Linked DNA regions of Homo sapiens: regions 1, 2, 4, 5 and 6 are each linked to region 3. The links are contacts of gene promoters, found by promoter capture Hi-C in blood cells and fetal thymus (Javierre and others, 2016). All regions are on one chromosome and are shown on one strand. The core of a region is centred on a gene start or on the middle of the fragment in contact, and the rest is flanking DNA. Distances in the headings are between cores, read along the strand shown. Region 1 holds the start of STAT5B (signal transducer and activator of transcription 5B). Region 2 overlaps STAT5B (signal transducer and activator of transcription 5B). Region 3 holds the start of CAVIN1 (caveolae associated protein 1). Region 4 overlaps STAT5B (signal transducer and activator of transcription 5B). Region 5 overlaps STAT5B (signal transducer and activator of transcription 5B). Region 6 holds the start of COASY (Coenzyme A synthase).

Evidence for each region. The method cuts DNA at HindIII sites, captures the fragments that hold promoters and counts their contacts. A CHiCAGO score of 5 or more calls a contact.
Region 1: a contact is called between a fragment that was not itself captured here and the fragment with the promoter of CAVIN1 in region 3, in 5 of 17 cell types (endothelial precursors, megakaryocytes, fetal thymus and 2 more). The highest score is 9.2, in endothelial precursors.
Region 2: a fragment that was not itself captured here is called in contact with the fragment with the promoter of CAVIN1 in region 3 in 5 of 17 cell types (neutrophils, megakaryocytes, endothelial precursors and 2 more); the score reaches 5.3 in neutrophils.
Region 4: a fragment that was not itself captured here is called in contact with the fragment with the promoter of CAVIN1 in region 3 in 6 of 17 cell types (activated CD4 T cells, total CD8 T cells, naive CD4 T cells and 3 more); the score reaches 8.6 in activated CD4 T cells.
Region 5: a fragment that was not itself captured here is called in contact with the fragment with the promoter of CAVIN1 in region 3 in 1 of 17 cell types (megakaryocytes); the score reaches 5.0 in megakaryocytes.
Region 6: a contact is called between the fragment with the promoter of COASY here and the fragment with the promoter of CAVIN1 in region 3, in 6 of 17 cell types (neutrophils, activated CD4 T cells, total CD8 T cells and 3 more). The highest score is 6.9, in neutrophils.

Annotation. Positions count from the first base shown.
Region 1 is chr17:42,273,447-42,276,554 of GRCh38, reverse strand. STAT5B (signal transducer and activator of transcription 5B) reads left to right here and starts at 164. Exons shown (of 19, transcript NM_012448.4): 1 at 164-307. RefSeq lists a silencer at 1-531. The HindIII fragment of the contact is 902 bases long and covers 800-1,701 here.
Region 2 is chr17:42,251,807-42,254,822 of GRCh38, reverse strand. The region is part of intron 1 of STAT5B (signal transducer and activator of transcription 5B); the gene reads left to right. Among named protein-coding and RNA genes, the nearest start is that of STAT5B, 23 kb to the left of the region's middle. The HindIII fragment of the contact is 4,157 bases long and covers 1-3,016 here.
Region 3 is chr17:42,421,820-42,425,128 of GRCh38, reverse strand. CAVIN1 (caveolae associated protein 1) reads left to right here and starts at 1,873. Exons shown (of 2, transcript NM_012232.6): 1 at 1,873-2,502. The coding sequence starts at 2,032. LOC102725238 (a long non-coding RNA gene) reads right to left here and starts at 1,941. Exons shown (of 4, transcript XR_007065758.1): 1 at 1,857-1,941; 2 at 67-238. The HindIII fragment of the contact is 2,664 bases long and covers 1,384-3,309 here.
Region 4 is chr17:42,200,768-42,203,805 of GRCh38, reverse strand. STAT5B (signal transducer and activator of transcription 5B) reads left to right here. Exons shown (of 19, transcript NM_012448.4): 17 at 998-1,049; 18 at 1,359-1,466; 19 at 1,942-3,038. The coding sequence ends at 2,068. Among named protein-coding and RNA genes, the nearest start is that of GHDC, 7.8 kb to the right of the region's middle. The HindIII fragment of the contact is 2,323 bases long and covers 370-2,692 here.
Region 5 is chr17:42,220,964-42,224,100 of GRCh38, reverse strand. It overlaps STAT5B (signal transducer and activator of transcription 5B), which reads left to right. Exons shown (of 19, transcript NM_012448.4): 5 at 545-719. Among named protein-coding and RNA genes, the nearest start is that of GHDC, 28 kb to the right of the region's middle. The HindIII fragment of the contact is 2,425 bases long and covers 324-2,748 here.
Region 6 is chr17:42,560,598-42,563,701 of GRCh38, reverse strand. It overlaps COASY (Coenzyme A synthase), which reads right to left and starts at 1,554. Exons shown (of 9, transcript NM_025233.7): 1 at 380-1,554. The coding sequence starts at 1,079. RefSeq lists enhancers at 1,029-1,218, 1,229-1,478. The HindIII fragment of the contact is 14,901 bases long and covers 1-3,104 here.

The DNA of each region.
Region 1 (3,108 bases), core at 1-2,500, 150 kb after region 3:
CAAGGGCGGTCGCGGAGGGGGCGCGAGGGACAGCGGGCTAGCGAGCGCGCGCCGGGCGGAACCAGGAAGCGGGGCGCGCTCCGGGTTGCCAGCGGCGCGCGTCCCTGGGCCTCCGCGCGTGAGCGGCGCGCGCGCCCCCGCGGGCCCCGGCGGGAGGAGAGTCGGCGGCCGGAGCCGTCACCCCGGGCGGGGACCCAGCGCAGGCAACTCCGCGCGGCGGCCCGGCCGAGGGAGGGAGCGAGCGGGCGGGCGGGCAAGCCAGACAGCTGGGCCGGAGCAGCCGCGGGCGCCCGAGGGGCCGAGCGAGGTAGGAGCTGCGGGGCGAGCCCTGGGCCCGGGGCCGGGGGAGCCAGGCCGGGGAGCCAGCCCGGGCGGGGCCCGCGCTCCAGCCGCTCAGCCGCCCGTCAGGGCCGCGCCGCCGCCATCACTCCCGGGCCGCGGTGGTTGCGCGCTGGGCGAGGGGCGCGCGCGGGGAGAGGGGGTCCGGGTTGGCTGCCGGGGAGGCTGAGGGCAATGCGGGGTGCGCGAGGGGGACTTGCGAACGCCGCGGCGCCGCGGGGGGCGTGCGCTTTAAAGGCTGCGTGCGCGTGTGCTGAGTGGGTGTGTGGGGACCCCGCGCCGACCCCATAGGAGCTCAGGGGGCTGCTGTCAGCCGCCTCACACCTTCACGTTGCAATTCCGAATATCCCCAGCCGTCTTCCTTGCTTTAACTTCTTTCTTTCAAAAGAGGTTCCCGGGACTCCGGGGATGGGATGAGCCTGCGGGGGTGCCTGGTGCGGTGGGGGGTATTAGCAAAGCTTCAAGAAACAGGGCCTTATAAGGAATCAAGACAACAAATACGAACGTTTCGATAAGACTCTGGGGGGCGGGATCCCACATCAGGACCCGCCAGGCCTGGGCTCGTGCGTGTGGCCGTGGGATGCAGTGTGCTTTTTCTTTCTAGTCAGGGATAAAGGGTTAAAAGTGCTCCTGGTGTCGGGGGGTAGATATGGAGAGTCGGAAGGGGAGTTGTATCACAAAAGCTGGTCTGAGGCTAAAGGAATCTGGCAAGATGGTCGGGGTGAACAAAGAGGAAAGAACTCACACGGAGCAAGAGGCGGTTGCAAACACTTGTAGCCAGCAGTGATGGAAAAGCCAAAGAAGAAAACCAAGTGTCAGCTTTTAGAAAGACGGGATTAATGAAAAGCACAAGAATTTTAAAGACTAAAAGAGATACCGATTCTCTCTTTGCCAAAGAGCCAGAGTCAGTTCTTTTCTTCTTGGTCCCTGTGATCCCGCCATACCTCGTATCAAATAAATAGTGCCAAAAGTGGGTCAAAGAATGTTAGAGCTGGAAAGGAACCCAGCGATGATGCCATTCTTTTATTGTACAAATGAGGAAACTGAGGCCCAGATAGGTGGAGTAAGTGGCCTGCTCAGGTGACACGGCTGTTTGTTGAGTATCCAGGGATTGAAACTTCAAGGACTCTGAGATTCGTGCTCTTCCCAAAGCATCGTGCAGTATACAGATCTTTGCCTAGATACAATTCCATACATTTTCTCTGCAGTGTCCTCAGGGAATGCCCTTTGAAAGGGCCAGCGTGACACTGAATATCATACTTGGGCTTATGTCATTTTTTTCAGTCTTCAAGTGGTGTTTATGGTCTGCTTGGATCTTAGGTTTCCAAAGCTGTTGGATAGCCGCCTGGGCCATAATAAGCTTTCAGCTGTTGGGTCTACATTATTTCAAATAATTTTGTTATCTTTCAATTAAGGTAATAGAACTGTGCCTCTCTCCCCAACATTCTATTGTTGTCCATTTGCTTATGTTATATTGCGTTATGTTCATTGCCTGTGAGTTCCTAGGTGAGGATGTATTTTATTGAGTGTGCCTTTCATGTTTTAAAATTTCATTTTGTAACACTGTAAATATTGGAGTGGTTCTGATCACTTCAAATGGGGAGAATCTTATTGATTGATTTTATTTTAAGGCTTTGGGTTGTTTTGTTTATTCATTTGGGTACCAGTTTCCATCTCATGGAAGATCACAGTTGTTAGAATGGACATGGCTAAATAAGAGAAGGGGCTGCTGATTTTAAGAAAAACTTCCTATGTGACAATTTGTGGTATCTGTTACGTTTAATTCAAACAAGTCCACACCTTGGGTCAGGTAAGCGCGTTATCTAGGAGATGACTTGTTTGCTACTGTAGCCTCTGGAAGATGAAATTTCAAGCTCCAGATTGAGACACAGGGAAGGAATGGAGAGGTTTTTTTTTTTTTTTTTTTTTTTTTTGTAAAGCAAACCATCAGAAAAAAAAAGTTGATTTCTATCACCAGTAGTTTGGTTATTGCATAACTTGAAGCTAAACTCTGCACAAAATAATCTTTGCTATATACCCAACTAGGTAAACTATCCCACCTTCTCATCAGTTCTCACCTTTTCGGTGCTTGTATTTTTTGCCCACGGGATATTAATATGGATTGTGTTCAGAAATTTAAGGTGTGTACTTCATAGTATGTATGATTGTAGGAGAAAAATGTGCTATCATCGTTTGGAGTGTTACAACATAAATATTTTGGTCAACACTTCCTATCCTGCTCTGACTTTTCATCTCATCTCCATTTTCTTCCTCTCTTGATTGTTTTTATGTCATTTACATATGTAAAAGCCACATCAAGACTAAAGTTGCCATTTATTACTTTTTGATACTTAAGTCGAGTTTTTTCAAATCATAGTATTGTTAGTATTCAAATTGTCTGTAATTTTTGTTAGGCTTATATATTATGAATCCATTTGTTGTGGTTTATTTGGCTTGTTGTTATGTAGGTAGGTGACACAGGTAGTCTTATTGTAAAAGGAAGACGTTATAGATAGGTAAATAACATGCTCAAGATTAGATGCAGGTTACAGGTGGAATCGAAGGAAGCCTAACTATTTTCGTGCCCTACAAAAATGTCTGTATCTCATAAAGTTATTCACAGATTTCTGGACATTCTATCTGTGACACATTTTTTCCCTTTCTGTTAAGAGTGCAGATTACTGCATTATTCCTACAAAAGGAAGCAAAATAACCCTAGTTTGTATGATTTTTCTGATAATTTGAAACTTATTCGTTTAAAAAGCTATC
Region 2 (3,016 bases), core at 281-2,780, 170 kb after region 3:
CCGCACCGACCTTCTTTTTTTTTCCATTTTTAAAAATTTTCTATTCTCATTACATCTTCCTTTCTCCCTACTTTTCCTTCCCTTCCCTTCCAGTTTGTCCTTCCCTCTCTCTCTTTCTTCCTTTTTTCTTTCTTTTTCATTCTCATTTTTCTGAGTAGTTGCTGAAGACACAGCCTGACCCTAGGGGTCCAAATATAGATGAAACAATCATAGCTCTCTAGCAGTTCACCTGGAGGGAGAGAGAAAAAGAGAGTAAGAGAACCAAAATGAAGGGGAAATATTCTTAATTTTTTTTTTTTTAAGGACAGAAACTAACTTGTTGAGGAAAAAGAGAAATATACTGGGAGTTCTGACTGATAGGAACAAAGAGAGGACAGCTTCGAAGGATGATTTGAAAAGTAATCTATGGAATTTAGCTTTAAAGCAGGATCTTGGGCTGTAGACTACTTTATTATTATTATTTTTTAAGAGACAGAGTGCAGTGGTGCAGTCATGGCTCACTGTAGCCTCAAACTCCTGGGCTCAAGCCATCCTCCCACCTCAGCCTTCTGAGTAGCTAGGATTACAGGTACATACCAGCACGCCTGGCTAATTTTTTAATTTTTATTTTGTAGAGATGAGGTCTTGCTGTGTTGCCCAGGCTGGTCTTGAACTCCTGGCCTCAAGTGATCCTCCTGCCTCAGCATCCCAAAGTGCTGGGATGTTGTGGACTCCTTTAGAGCCTCTTGAAATAGGGCTAGTAAAGTGATTTTCTACCACTGTATCTGTGCTCATTTACATTGGGCAGATCACTTCTGCTTGACTTCATAGTTTCAACCTATAACATGAGGGGTCAACAGGTAGATTCGGAACCATCAGAGTTTAGGCCGAAGCCCATAGAATATGAAAGTTATTTTTAAAATTTATTTTTACAATGTCTACAAATGCAGTTGTTAAAGTGCCAGAGACAGAAGTATTGACAATGAGAAATTATCCAAAACCAGGCCAGGCGCGGTGACTCACGCCTGTAATCCCAGCACTTTGGGAGGCAAAGGTGGCAAGATGACTTGAGGCCAGGAGTCACAGGCTGCAATGAGTTGTGTTCATGCCACTGCTCTCCAGTCTGGGCCACAGAACAAGACCCTGTCTCTAAAAATAATCATCATCATCCAAAACCAAGACTGGCTCCTATTGGAAAGGTGGAAATGGTTGTGATGGAATTCAGCAACACCAATACCTTGGTATTTCTGACTTTCAGGATGTTAGGAGACTCTTTCAGTCCTTCCTGTTTAAATATGAATGGATATGTATTGCCATTATTGCCCTGCCCCTACATCTCCCAAATTTAGATTGCTAGTATTTATGTAAGTTTACTAGTCACAAATAGATTCTTGCATTTCCCATCTCTTGTCATAGGGCCCTCTTTGAGTTCAATATGCTTTTATTGGCACTTACTTTGGTTTTCTTTACAGCAGCAGCTGCTAATTAGTGACAGCTTTTGAGCAAGCAGCTTGTCATTTTTGGCAGAGATAGGGGACATCCATAGCAAGTCAAGACTATATTTTCATTTGCTAAATTTACTTTGCTACATGGAAATACATCTTGGATAAAAAATAGTCTGTAGTCAAAGGTGGCTGTGTTTACTGAATTATCTTCCTGAGTTGGCATTCTGTCCTGTAGTTGAAGAACTCACAGAGATGAAAAAAAGAAAGAAAGAAAGAAAGAAAGAAAGAAAGGTTCAACGTCTATCAGACTGATGCCATAAGTCCTGAGTCATCCTTCTAACATTAATCTACATTCTGGGTATAGAACCTCATCATCTTGTTTTGGCACAATCATAAATCTTTCTGGATTGTAGTTAGTGGCATACATGGTAACTGAATGAGTGAATTGTTGACAAATGTGCTTTTCGTTTATACTCAGCTTCTTTCTTGAGATATAATTAAAAGAAAGGTTAGTTTGCTTAGAGAAGATCCTTTCTTTGGAATTTTAGCTCATCTTAGCATCATCATATTTCATGTAATTCTTCTCTTTGAAATTGCTGCAATAAAGTGTTAGCTCTATTTTACAAACTTGTCACGATGTTTATGAGGGTGGCACAACTTGCTATTATGTTTACCTTGATTAGCACCAATGATGAGTCAAAACCTCCGTCATGGTTTCTATAAAGTGTGATTCACTCCCATTATTCCTGTAATAAGGATTCAGATTAATGACCTCCACAGTGTTAAAAATATCCTGAAGGAAATAACTGACCTACCATCCATTTCCCCCAATTTAGGTCCTTTTTGTAACATGGAGGTCTATAAAAATTGTATTCAATACACAATTACTAAATACCAACCATGTATATCAAGTACTATATTGGGGAAATCAAAATGAATCAGAGAGACATGGTCCTTGCTCCAGGATGGCTTACAGTCTATTAGTTGGCCAGCAGATAACTTAGTTGCCTTGGTTCTTATGTCCAGAGTGTAGGGTAAATTCTAATTCTAGAGGAGGAAAACATCCCATCTTTTAAAAATAAGATTATCAAAATGATCAAAGACATTGGATACAAATATTGTACTGATTCTATTTCTACCTAAAGGTGTTAAAGATTGTTTGAGGCACTTTTCCTAGGCTTGTGGAACTGCCAGGCATCCTTGTCCCAAATTTCCCCTTGATATATCGCACAGCACTGTTAAATTCAGAAGTTGCCTTCTGTATCAGAGTGTCTATTTCTTGATGGCATAGCTTGGAGAACCCAGATGATCTTCTAGCATTCAACTCATACTTAATGTACATCAACAGTAACATAGTTATTTGTATATTTTCTTTTCTTTTTTTCTTTTTTTTTTTTTTTGAGACGGAGCCTTGCTCTGTCACCCAGGCTGGAATGCAGTGGCACGATCTCGGCTCACTGCAACCTCCACCTCCTGGGTTCGAGCCATTCTCCTGCCTCAGCCTCCCCAGTAGCTGGGATTACAGGCACGCATCACCACGCCCAGCTAATTTTTTGTATTTTTAGTAGAGACGGGGTTTCACCATGCTGGCC
Region 3 (3,309 bases), core at 624-3,123:
AGAAGGTGGAAAGAGCATGAAAGCAGGAGTCCAGACCTGGGTTCAAGTGCCAATGCCAACACTAACCTGCGAGTGATCTCTGGCAAGCCACCTGTCTTCTGCAGGCTTTCCTTTTCCTGTCTGTCAAATGAGGGGGTGGGATTTGATGGTCTCTCCGATGGCTTACTGTTAGTCCCTGGAATCTTGAAAGAGAAATGGACTCCTAGATCCTGCTCACTGAGATTGGTGTCAGCTGCCTCTGAGGGGGCGGTGGGAGGGGGAACACAGGGAAAGGTGAGTTTTAGAGAGAGGTGAGACGTGGGTTTGTGGGTTGCTTTTGTTTTTGTTTTTTTTGTTTTTTTGAGACAGAGTCTCACTCTGTCTGCACTCAGACAGTGGATTACCAACTGGCAGATTACCAACTTACTTTAGAATTTAGGAGAAATGTATTAAAGTAATTTAAATTCCTTCTACTAAGGATTGAAAAAGCTTTTGGAAAAAAGAGGAATTCTACTCTGTAGAATTCCACTCAGGCTGGAGTGCAATGGCGCGAATCTCAGCTCATTGCAACCTCTGCCCCCCGGGTTCAAGTGATTCTCCTGCCTCAGCCTCCCGAATAGCTGGGATTACAGGCATGCGCCACCACGCCTGGCTAATTTTGTATTTTTAGTAGAGATGGGGTTTCTCCATGTTGGTCAGGCTGAGGTCGAACTCCCGACCTCAGGTGATCCACCCACCTCCGCCTCCCAAAATGAGCCACTGCGCCTGGCCTAATTTTTGTATTTGTAACAGAGACGGGGTTTCACCATCTTGGGCCAGGCTGGTCTTGAACTCCTGACCTCGTGATCCACCCGCCTGGGCCTCCCAAAGTGCTGGGATTACAGGCATGAGCCACCGCGCCTGGCCTAAGAGAGGTGGGCTTTTAAAAAGGGCTTTACACCAGGCGCGGTGGCTCCCAGCACTTTGAGAGGCTGAAACCAGCAGATCACTTGAGCTCAGGAGTTCGAGACCAGCCTGGTCAAAATAGTGTACACCCCGTCTCTTAAAAAAATAAAAATTGAAAAAAATAAAAATTGAAATTAGCTGGGCGTGGTGGCAAGCGCCTATAGTCTCATCTACTCAGGAGGCTGAAGTGGGAGGATTGCCTGAGCCCAAGAGGTCGAGGCTGCAGTGAACTGTGATCAGACCGCTGCACTCCAGCCTGGGTGACAGAGTGACACCCTGTCTCAGAAAGGGGGGTTGGGAGGTGGGCTTTATTTTCCGTTTGATTGCCCATCTTAATTCTACTCTGTTAGGGCAATTCTAAAAAGAACTTAGAGGAGCTTCGCAGCCCTTCACCACCACCGTGACCCCAAATACGTTCTCTCTTTCTCCCCCCGCCCCCCACAAACAACCCCCTAAGCTTACCCCTGAGTTAGTAACCTGGTTGGGGTTGGTGATGAGGAAATCCGAGAGGCCTCTTAGAAAATATTGTAAAGGGCAAGGGTCCTTTTGTGCTCAAAATCTAGGTAAAGGCAAATACAAGATTTTGCCTATAATTTCAGAATCTCCTGGTCCACCCGGCTCCCAGATCTTGAGGATTTTCGGATGAGCAATTCAAGTGAGAGGGAAACAGAGAGCAACACTCTTAGAACCTGATTCCGTTCCTCAGCTCGCATTCCTCCGCCCGTCCCGCTCCCGCCGCCAGCGGAGGCCCTAGTCTCCCGCTCCAACTATTCCAACCATCCCGGGAAGGGTGGGGCGCTCGGCTCTTGGGTCCCCCTCCGCCGCCCCGCCTCGTCGATCTCCCCTTCTGCCCCGGTCCCTCCCTTTCTGGGGTGGGGCCAGCCAATCAGCGATCAGACTCCGGAGTTTGGCCCGGGAGCTGGGGAGCTCACCGATCCCCCGCCCAGCAGTTCTGGCCGCTGTCCCGGTGCGCACGGACGTGGCTCGAGTTTCCTCTGCTCTCCGCTCTCGCCCGCTAGCTCTCCTCCCTTCCGCTCCTGCTTCTCTCCGGGTCTCCCGCTCCAGCTCCAGCCCCACCCGGCCGGTCCCGCACGGCTCCGGGTAGCCATGGAGGACCCCACGCTCTATATTGTCGAGCGGCCGCTTCCCGGGTACCCCGACGCCGAGGCCCCGGAGCCTTCCTCCGCTGGGGCTCAGGCAGCGGAGGAGCCGTCGGGGGCCGGCTCAGAAGAGCTGATCAAGTCGGACCAGGTGAACGGCGTGCTGGTGCTGAGCCTCCTGGACAAAATCATCGGGGCCGTAGACCAGATCCAGCTGACTCAAGCACAGCTGGAGGAGCGGCAGGCGGAGATGGAGGGCGCAGTGCAGAGCATCCAGGGCGAGCTGAGCAAGCTGGGCAAGGCGCACGCCACCACGAGCAATACGGTGAGCAAGCTGCTGGAGAAGGTGCGCAAGGTCAGCGTCAACGTGAAGACCGTGCGCGGCAGCCTGGAGCGCCAGGCGGGGCAGATCAAGAAGCTGGAGGTCAACGAGGCCGAGCTGCTGCGGCGCCGCAACTTTAAAGTCATGATCTACCAGGTGAGCCCACAGGGCGGAAGGCGCCCAGAGCTCCCGCGCCCGGCCCGCGTCCCCTGCCTGGGAGTTGGGGTGGGGAGACCTGCCCGTGGCGCTGCTCCCCTCCCAGCCTGGCCCGGGCGCCCGGCAGATCCACCCTCCTTCCGGTGAGCGCGGCTGGGGTGGGGTTGGGTGGGGTAGGATGGGGTGGAGGGAGCGGCGGACTCCTGGGGCGCGTAGAGGGGCGCGCTCTGCACCTCGCACCTCCCCACTCAGATCCTTCCCTCGGGTCCCAAACTTGTAGCAGAACCGAATTAGCGGGTGGACTCGAGGACGCTGCCCCTCGCAGACCGCTCCCTCCCTAATTGGCTCTGTCAAACTTCTTCCTACTTGGGGGAAGTTTCTAGGAAAGTCAGGGGTCCCTCGCGATCGTTGGGGTCCGCTGTAAGCGGACACTGGCTGCGGGGCCCGGGCCTGGGGCCTCTGCGCCTGCGGGCCTGATATAGCGGGTGATTCAGGGCTCAGGCACGCACCAGCGGGGGCTGTGCCAAGCGGGGAACGCGACCGCCAACCTCCTCCCCAGACCCTGCGCCCCCGCGCCCCCACATCGGCCTCGGCGGCCCACCCCTGTCCCCTCGCTGCTCTCTGCTCCTGGCCACCAGGCATTTTCAGGCCCTTGAGGACACCCTCACCCGCGGCGCGCTGGCACCCTGGGCCTCCTGGAAGCGGGCGGGGCTGGGCGGGGAAGAGTGGGCGTCAGGAGTGCAAGAGGGGCTGGTGGAGTGGGTGGACAGCCCCTGCGGGGTCCGGCGGTCTGGGCGCAGTCTGGGC
Region 4 (3,038 bases), core at 282-2,781, 220 kb after region 3:
AAAATATAAAAAGTAGCTGGGCATGGTGGTGCGCACCTGTAATCCCAGCTACTCGGGAGGCTGAAGCATGAGAATCACTTGAACCCAGAAGGCAGAGGTTGCAGTGAGCTGAGATCGCACCACTGCACTCCAGTGTGGGCAACAGAGTAAGACTCTGTCAAAAAAGAAAAAAAAGAAAACCTCCAGTGACAAGGAAATCAGTCCTTCCTAAGATAAATCATTTCTTTTCCTGGCAGTTCTACTTAGAACATTCTTCCCTGCATGACTGAACATTTGTCCTCTTATGACCTGCCCCTCCTGGTCCTGATTTTATCCCCTGGGTCAGGTAGAACAAATCCTGTCTCTCTGCTGCATCTTGGACTTTAAGCTTTTCAAGGTGTTTTTTTTTTTTTAATTAGTATGCAATTAGTGCTTGACTTAGATTTGTATTGAAGTACATAGTTTCCATGGTTTGAAGAATTTATTGAAACATCCAAGCCAATTTGGAAGATATCTTGAATTTCAGTTTTAGTGCTGACCTTCTCCTCTACCAGGTCTTCCTAACAGATTGAAATATTAAATGCTTGGCCAAGTGCGGTGGCTTATGCCTGTAATCCCAGCACCTTGGGGGGCCAAGGTGGGCAGATAACTTGAGGTCAGGAGTTAGAAAACAGCCTGGGTGACATGGTGAAACCCCATCTCTACTAAAAATACAAAAATTAGCCAAAGTGTGGTGGTGTACCTGTAATCCAGCTACTCAGGAGGCTGAGGCATCGGAATCATTTGAACCTGGGAGGCGGAGGCTGCAGTGAGCCGAGATTGCACCACCGTACTCCAGCCTGGATGAGAGAGTGAGACTGTTTCAAAAAACAAAACAAAAAAATATTAAGTGCTTGTGTCATATCCTTAGATAAGTTAGGTGGTTGTGTTCTGTCCTAAGAAAAGATGTGATTCATAAGGAAGATCACATTTTTGTTTCACTTGAGAACTTTGATTTACTACATTCTTCCCTTGGCAGCTAAAGCTGTTGATGGATACGTGAAGCCACAGATCAAGCAAGTGGTCCCTGAGTAAGTGTCCAGGTGGCTGTGGCTCTCCTTCTGCCTCTTTCCTCCTCCCCCAGACCCTGCCTCCCATCCTTATCCTGGCCCAGCTTTCCGCTCCCCCGGGGAAACTGTCTCAGCCCTGGGGAAGGACCTGGGCTTGGTGATGCTATGCCAGTACCTGAGGCCCCACTCCTGTAGCTGGAGCCCCAGGGCCGAGTGGGGCACTTTGTCCTTCTACACCCTGAGAAAGACAAAGATACCCCTTGGTCCCCTCCCCAAGTCAGCTGCCCTGGCCTCCCTGGCAGCTGAAGCTCTGTTCTCTTCCTTCTGCAGGTTTGTGAACGCATCTGCAGATGCCGGGGGCGGCAGCGCCACGTACATGGACCAGGCCCCCTCCCCAGCTGTGTGTCCCCAGGCTCACTATAACATGTACCCACAGAAGTAGGTGGCATTCTTGTGGGGGTCCACAGGGGAGGAACTGGGGGCTTGGCCCCAGGCTGGACCCCTGGAGGGCTGGGGTCAAAGGAATCCAGAGCTCCTCTAGGTCTGAGACCACACAGCCCTGGCCCGGGCTCTGGCCTTTGGGAGGGAGAGATTTGACCAGAAGTGATTGGTGGTTTAGAGTCGGGTTGGGCAAATGTCATCTGTTCCCCTCTCTCAATATGGAGATTTTTCTTGCTCTAAGGACTGAGTGGAGTTGTGATGTGTCTGGACAGCCGGTGTGAGAGGTAACAGGGGAGGGTATTTCAGTCTGAGTTGCTGTACAGCCAGCTGTTTGAATGGTTGTTCTTTTCCCATGAAGCCCCAGGCTGAGGGCATAGGCTGGCTCAGACTGCTCCCCTGGTGGCCTGTGGGGCTTGGGGTGGTCTCTGGCAGGCTTTCCCCTTCCCTTCATCCCTCTTCTTTCCCTCCCAAGCCCTGACTCAGTCCTTGACACCGATGGGGACTTCGATCTGGAGGACACAATGGACGTAGCGCGGCGTGTGGAGGAGCTCCTGGGCCGGCCAATGGACAGTCAGTGGATCCCGCACGCACAATCGTGACCCCGCGACCTCTCCATCTTCAGCTTCTTCATCTTCACCAGAGGAATCACTCTTGTGGATGTTTTAATTCCATGAATCGCTTCTCTTTTGAAACAATACTCATAATGTGAAGTGTTAATACTAGTTGTGACCTTAGTGTTTCTGTGCATGGTGGCACCAGCGAAGGGAGTGCGAGTATGTGTTTGTGTGTGTGTGTGTGTGTGTGTGTGTGTGCGTGTTTGCACGTTATGGTGTTTCTCCCTCTCACTGTCTGAGAGTTTAGTTGTAGCAGAGGGGCCACAGACAGAAGCTGTGGTGGTTTTTACTTTGTGCAAAAAGGCAGTGAGTTTCGTGAAGCCTGGAAGTTGGCCATGTGTCTTAAGAGTGGCTGGACTTTGACATGTGGCTGTTTGAATAAGAGAAGGACAAAGGGAGGAGAAAGCACATGTGCTCCAGTGAGTCTTCGTCACTCTGTCTGCCAAGCAATTGATATATAACCGTGATTGTCTCTGCTTTTCTTCTGAAATGTAGATAACTGCTTTTTGACAAAGAGAGCCTTCCCTCTCCCCCACCCCTGTGTTCTTGGGTAGGAATGGGAAAAGGGGCAACCTACAAAGATTGTTGGGGCAAGGGAAGTCACAAGCTTTCGGATGGGCGGTGGCTTTTCACAAAACATTTAGCTCATCTTATTCTCTCTTTGTCCTCTCTCCCCTCCTGCCCGCCCGCACCCTGGAATTGCCACTCAGTTCCTCTGGGTGTGCACATATGTTTGGAGAAATAGAGGAGAGAAAAGAGGGCCACGTAACTGAGAGCTTACAGTGCCAATGCCGTTTGTGTTCTGGCCAGAGTGGAGTGCGCAGCCCTGACTCCCAGGCGCTGAGATTGTTGCCTGGTTACCCAGGAAGCTGCTGTTCCGGCTGCCCAGCCTTTCTCTGAGCCAGCGGATGCACAGTCCGTGGCCTTCTTCAGGCTTATTGATGATGCTTTTTGC
Region 5 (3,137 bases), core at 287-2,786, 200 kb after region 3:
CCCATCACTTCACCCTGGGGTCTCCAGGATGCCTGCAAGAGGTTTGGCCTCTTCCATGGTGGAAGCAAATGATTCCATCACGAGAATATCTTGAGTGAGGACACAGATGATGTGTGTTCACATGGCCCTGCTCCCCATGGCCTCCCTAATGCTTAATGCCGTCCTTGCATTGGGTCAGTGAGTGGAAGAGGAATCACTCCACCTCCTCATTAGTAGGAAAACCCAGGTGACACTGGACCAGGTTACGTTCTAGTTTCTCCAAAGGTAATTCAATGGACCTCGTTTGGAATACTCTGGTGGAGGTCAGATCTGAAATGGAAGCTTCTCCCATGCTTTGTGATCTGAGCCATGATCTGTCCGCTCACCTGTTTCTCACTTTTCCCACTCCACCCTGTGTCTCATGATGACGTTTGCTTTTCCTCCCGACTCAAAATTTACCTTTTGGGGTCTTACCCTGGTTGTAGGAGCTGGCTTTTCCTGGGGATTAAGGCCTCAGTCTTCCTCCCATTCGCACTGCCTTGCACTGCCCCCCATATGTTCCCAGGGTAGCTCTCCAGCTGGAAGCCTTGCTGATGCCATGTCCCAGAAACACCTCCAGATCAACCAGACGTTTGAGGAGCTGCGACTGGTCACGCAGGACACAGAGAATGAGTTAAAAAAGCTGCAGCAGACTCAGGAGTACTTCATCATCCAGTACCAGGAGAGCCTGAGGATCCAAGGTGAGGCGCGGTGGAGGCACATTGTGCAACTTGAGGATTGGGCCTGGGGACTGGAAAGCAGCTCTGGTGGGGTTGGGAGAAAGCACACTTTCCATTCGGAGGCAGCGACCTTTCTCTGAGTAGCAGGGACTTATTTGCATTGAAGACAGTGCTGAGAGGATGAGATTTAGGAAGGGGAGATGACAGGACCCCCCGCTTAAGTGCATATCTCACTCAGGTCCCCACATCCAGGGAGCTTCTGAGCTGCCAGGGAAGACATTTCTTCTTTTGAGAAGGAGCTCACAGTCTAAATAAATACTAGCAAACAATACTTTTGTATATAGTAGGCATATTATAAGTGGAGCTTTATTGAAATGATAAATAGGAAATTATATAATTACATGTTTAAAAATTTTTCTGGCTGGGCACGGTGGCTCACACCTGTAATCCCAGCACTTTGGGAGGCTGAGGCAGGCGGATCACCTGAGGTCAGGAGTTCGAGACCAGCCTGGCCAACATGGTGAAACCCCGTCTCTACTAAAAATACAAAATTAGCTGGGCATCCCAGTGGCGCATGCATGTAATCCCAGCTACTTGGGAGGCTGAGGCAAGAGAATCTCTTGAACCCGGGAGGCGGAGGTTGCAGGGAGCCGAGATCTCACCATTGCACTCCAGCCTGGACAAAAAGAGCAAAATTCTGTCTCAAAAAAAAAAAAAAAAAATTCTAAGCTGGGAGTGGTTTTGCACACCTGTAATCCTGGTGCTTTGGGAGGCCAGGGCAGGAGGATCACTTGAGGCCAGTAGTTTCAGACTAGCTTAGGCAACATAGTAAGACCCTATCTCTAAGGGGGAAAAGAAACCTTTCTAAGCAGGTACGTGTAAGTACTAAGGACCTGTATATGATTTCTAATGTTCTATGCAGTTATTCACAGAGGTCTTCCTGAAACAGAGTACACTTAACGCCCCTTAGGTAGCCCTTATGGACAGAGCTTCCCTAGCCTGGTATAAATCCTGCTTAGTAGTTGGGGCACAGAGAGCTTCAGTCTGTGGTGAGGCTGTGGAGCCCCACCAGCGCCCCCTTTTGACCCTGTAGCAGTTTGGCAGTTTGAGCTTTAATAGTTTCCTCTCTGCTTCCATGCCCAGCTCAGTCTCAGAGAAGCCTTGGCTCAACCACCCAGCCCCTCCAAACACACACACACACAGCACACACAGACAACACAGCACACACACACACCACACACATCACACACACAGCACACACACACACAGCACACACACCCCCCACAGCACACAGAGACACACAGTGCACACACACAGCACACACACACCACACACAGCACACACACAGACACACAGCACACACACACCACACCACACACACCACACCACACACAGCACACACACACCACACCACACACAGCACACACACACCACACATAGCACACACACACACCACACATACACACCACACACACATAGACACACAGCACACACACACACACACAGCACATGCTCCTCTAATTCCATGTATGTAGGTTCCATTTTATGTCTATAGTGATACTACTTATTTACTCTTTATCTTCTCCACTGGAATATAAATCTTTGAGAAGGGACTATATCTTTTATCTCTGTACCCTGAGGCCAGCACAATGCCTGAAACATAACAGTTATTGAGTAAAGGTTGACAGGATGATTCTAGCCTGTCTTCCTTTTTTATCTGAATCCATCCTAGACTGGCCCTAGAAGAAGGGCAGCTCCTTCAGAGAATGGAAACGGAAGATTTGGGATGGCTATTCCTACCCAAGTCCTTAGACTGTCAACAGTATTTCTGATCCCGTGCCTGGCTTTTCTGTTTCCTGTGCATGGTGGCGGATTAGGTTTGGATTCAGGTTGGGTTTGGATCTATCACGCAGTGTCTTCTCAGTCCCATTTGTCAAGTTCACTCAGCAGAAACACAGACTATTGATCTGCTTTTGCCAGGGAAGGCTCAGCTGCCTCCAGTGGAGTAGGGAAATTGCTTCCCGTCTCCCTGGCCTCCTTCCCAAAAGCTTCTGCAAATTTCCAGGAGAGCCCTAAGTGGGTCCCTTGCATAGGAAGGCTGGGCCCAGGTGTTGGGATCACCACCACCCTCCCTGTGGCTGGGCAGGATTCCTGAGGTAGCCGTGCAGATACCTTGGATCTGTCCGTCCCTGGATGATCCTCTTCCTGCTCGATACCTGCAGTGAGATTGGAGCCATATTTCTGAGTTCTAGCTCTGGGCTGTTCCTGGCTACATAGAGTTGCTTTTGTCTGTCCCAGCTTGTGCATCCCATGGGTCAGGGCTGGGGTCAGAGTGACGTGGCCCTCAGGGGCCAGCCAGGAGCTCGACCAAGACATGCTGGTGCGCGCATCTTCTGACTCAGCTCAAGCAAGGACTCTGGGCTGTTGAGAAGGTGATGG
Region 6 (3,104 bases), core at 305-2,804, 140 kb before region 3:
CATCAGAGGCAGATGGAAAATTCCAAGACCCATGCCATGCTTGAGTTTCCTCCTCCTGTCTGTGGCACTGCTACCTGCAGCTCACTCACCCATTCATTCCCAGTGTCTCATTAGGGTGTATCACCTGGAAAACTTGCTAAAATGCAGATCCCTTTGCTTCACATTTGGGGTATTCTGATTGAGTGGTGACTGGACCACATGCTGAGAAAGCTGTTCATTTGACAAAATGGCCTTAGCACCAATTGAGTGTCAACCACTGTGACATTTGGGAAGGGTGGGAAGTAATGAATGGCCCTACCCTTCCTTGATCTCGGCATAAGGGTCGGGGGTGGGGAGATTTGGGGATCCTCCACCCTAGTCCAGGGTCCCTCTTACTCACTCTTCAACAGATCTTTGTCTGCTACTCCCACCACAAGCTGCTCCTGGGCCAGGATGCACGCGACACTGAGCAACACCTTGTGGGCGTTGTGCAGGCGGTCAAACGTGCCACCGACAGCGCCACGGTAGTAGCCACGCACCGGCTGCTTTGGAGACCCGGCCACGGGGGAAGCTGGCCTGATCGTGGAGGGTAAGGGGACATCCAGGGGCTCCACGGGCACTTCTCCTATCCCATAATCGGAGTATAGCAGCACCGAGGCCAGTCGCGGACAACAGCTGTAACAGCTGGTGGCGTAACGCACTAGCTGCTGTTTGACCGGGTTGTACTGGCTTCCATCCAGGGTCTGGAAATCTGTCAACACGACTTCTGGCGGGTGGGCGAGATTCTGGACTGAGGTGGGCAGGGGAGGGAGAAAGGTGCTCTTGGTTCGGATATTGGTCAGTAGGATTCTGACGTCCAAGTGCCTGTGGACGTCGGCGCCAGCATAGAGGTGCGTGATGAAATCAAGAACCTCAAACGTGGCCTGCACGGGGCTGGACTGGGGCTGAGCCGGGCCCTCCAGGCTCATGCCCGGCTGCAGGTGAACATAGAGTGTGTGATTCACCAGCCGGGCCGCCGAGGTCAGGATGGAGGCCAGGCGAGGGGCTAGGGAGGCCAGCGGCGTCGTCAGCACCAGGAGACCCGACCGGAATACGGCCATGCTGCCCAGGCCTGCGGACAGTCAGGGAGACGAGGCGACGGTGACTGAAGGGCCTGCGGCCGAGGCAGAGGCCTGTATGGGACCTTGGACCCCAGAGAAGGAGGCCTGGAGCAGGGACGGGGTTTCAGTGCTGACCGACAGGAGCCGGGGGAGGGGACGGGGCCTGGTAGACGGCGCCTCGGGGCTGTGCTCTAAGCCTTGGTGTCCTCATTTCTCAGACGGGGCGGTGACTTCGCTGAACTGAGTCGAAATCCTGGGAGGGGGAAACTGGACAGGAACCCTTGTCACAGGGCTGGGGATCCAAAAATCCTGGGCCCTCTTGCTAAGCTGCACCAGGGTCTTCAAGGAATCGAAGAGGGAGGCTAAAGGGGGACGCTAAAGCTCACGTCGGCCCCCTACTCACTGAAACCTCAAGGCTTGGGTTCCACTTGCACCACCGCGGAGGCTTCCCTGGCTGCAACCCGGAAGCACTAACGGAGAAACCGCAACTCGGAACTACGGAAACGGAGGAAGGTCAAACGTCTCGACTTCGCTTCAGCGCGGGATTCTCGCGAGATTTCCAGTGGCATGGGCTGTGTCCTGCTGATGGGGTGGGGCTGATCCCGAAGGCTCTGGGAGTGGGTGAAGCCTTGATGCCGATCGGACCCCCGCTGGGACCGGGCGGAGAAAGGCAAGGCAGGTTTCAAAGCCCATTTCACAGATTCCCTTCTGGCCTGATGAGGAGAGATTAGTTTCAGCCAGGCCACCCAAGAGGCATCGGCAAAGCCAGAACTAACACCCAGATTTCCTTCATTCCAGGGACAGAGGTGGGGAATCACAGGGCTGCGCTGTATTAGCCCTCCTAGTACCCTCTCAGTCCGAGGATTCTCACATGGGAGGCTACTGGACAGGTCTGTCCACGTACCCATTTCACAGATGGAAAAACTGAGGCCTTGTGTGTACCTGGCTGCTGTAGGAGGCTCTCGCACCACCCAGATCCTCTGATGCGCTTGTTTGCGGGGTCTCTGTGGACAGGAGAAAAAGGCAAAGGCTGATTGGGCGCGGTGGCTCACGCCTGTAATCCCAGCACTTTGGGATGCCGAGGTGGGCAGAGCATCTGAGGTCGGGAGTTCGAGACCAACCTGACCAATATGGAGAAACCTTGTCTCTACTAAAAATACAAAATTAGACGAGCGTGGTGGCGCATGGCTGTAATCCCAGCTACTCAGGAGGCTGAGGCAGGAGAATCGCCTGAACCCGTGGGCGGAGGTCGCGGTGAGCCAAGATTGTGCCATTGCACTCCAACCTGGGCAACAAGAGCGAAACTCCCGGCCGGGCGCGGTGGCTGACGCCTGTAATCCCAGCACTTTGGGAGGCCGAGGCGGGCGGATCACGAGGTCAGGAGATCGAGACCATCCTGGCTAACACGGTGAAACCCCGTCTCTACTAAAAATACAAAAAAAAATTAGCCGGGCATGGTGGCAGACGCCTGTAGTCCCAGCTACTCGGGAGGCTGAGGCAGGAGAATGGCGTGAACCCGGGAGGAAGAGCTTGCAGTGAGCCGAGATCGCACCACTACACTCCAGCCTGGGTGACAGAGTGAGACTCCGTCTCAAAAAAAAAAAAAAAAAAAAAAAAGCGAAACTCCCTCTGGAAAAAAAAAAAGAAAAAAGAAAAAGGCAAAGGCTGGATACCTAGTGTGGGAGATTTACTGCGAAGCTAATGGGCGCTTGAAAGGCTGAGTGTGGAGGGGAAGCCAGGTTGCTATTAGAATACATCTCAGGTAAGTTGTGCATGGAGATCAAAAGGGAGAGAAGCCAGTCTCCAAGATTCCAGTAATGTGCCGTGGTATCCGAAACTTAAAAAAAAAAACAAAACTCACTTTTATATGTAATTTTGTGTTTATCTTTTGTATTCTTGAAGACGGTCTCCAAAAGCAAATAAGCCCCCAGCCCCACAAAACCTGGGCTTATGATGGAGAAAAGGAGATGCTATTTTAGATAAGGTGATTCAGGAAAACAGCAAAGACCTGGAGGAAGAGATACA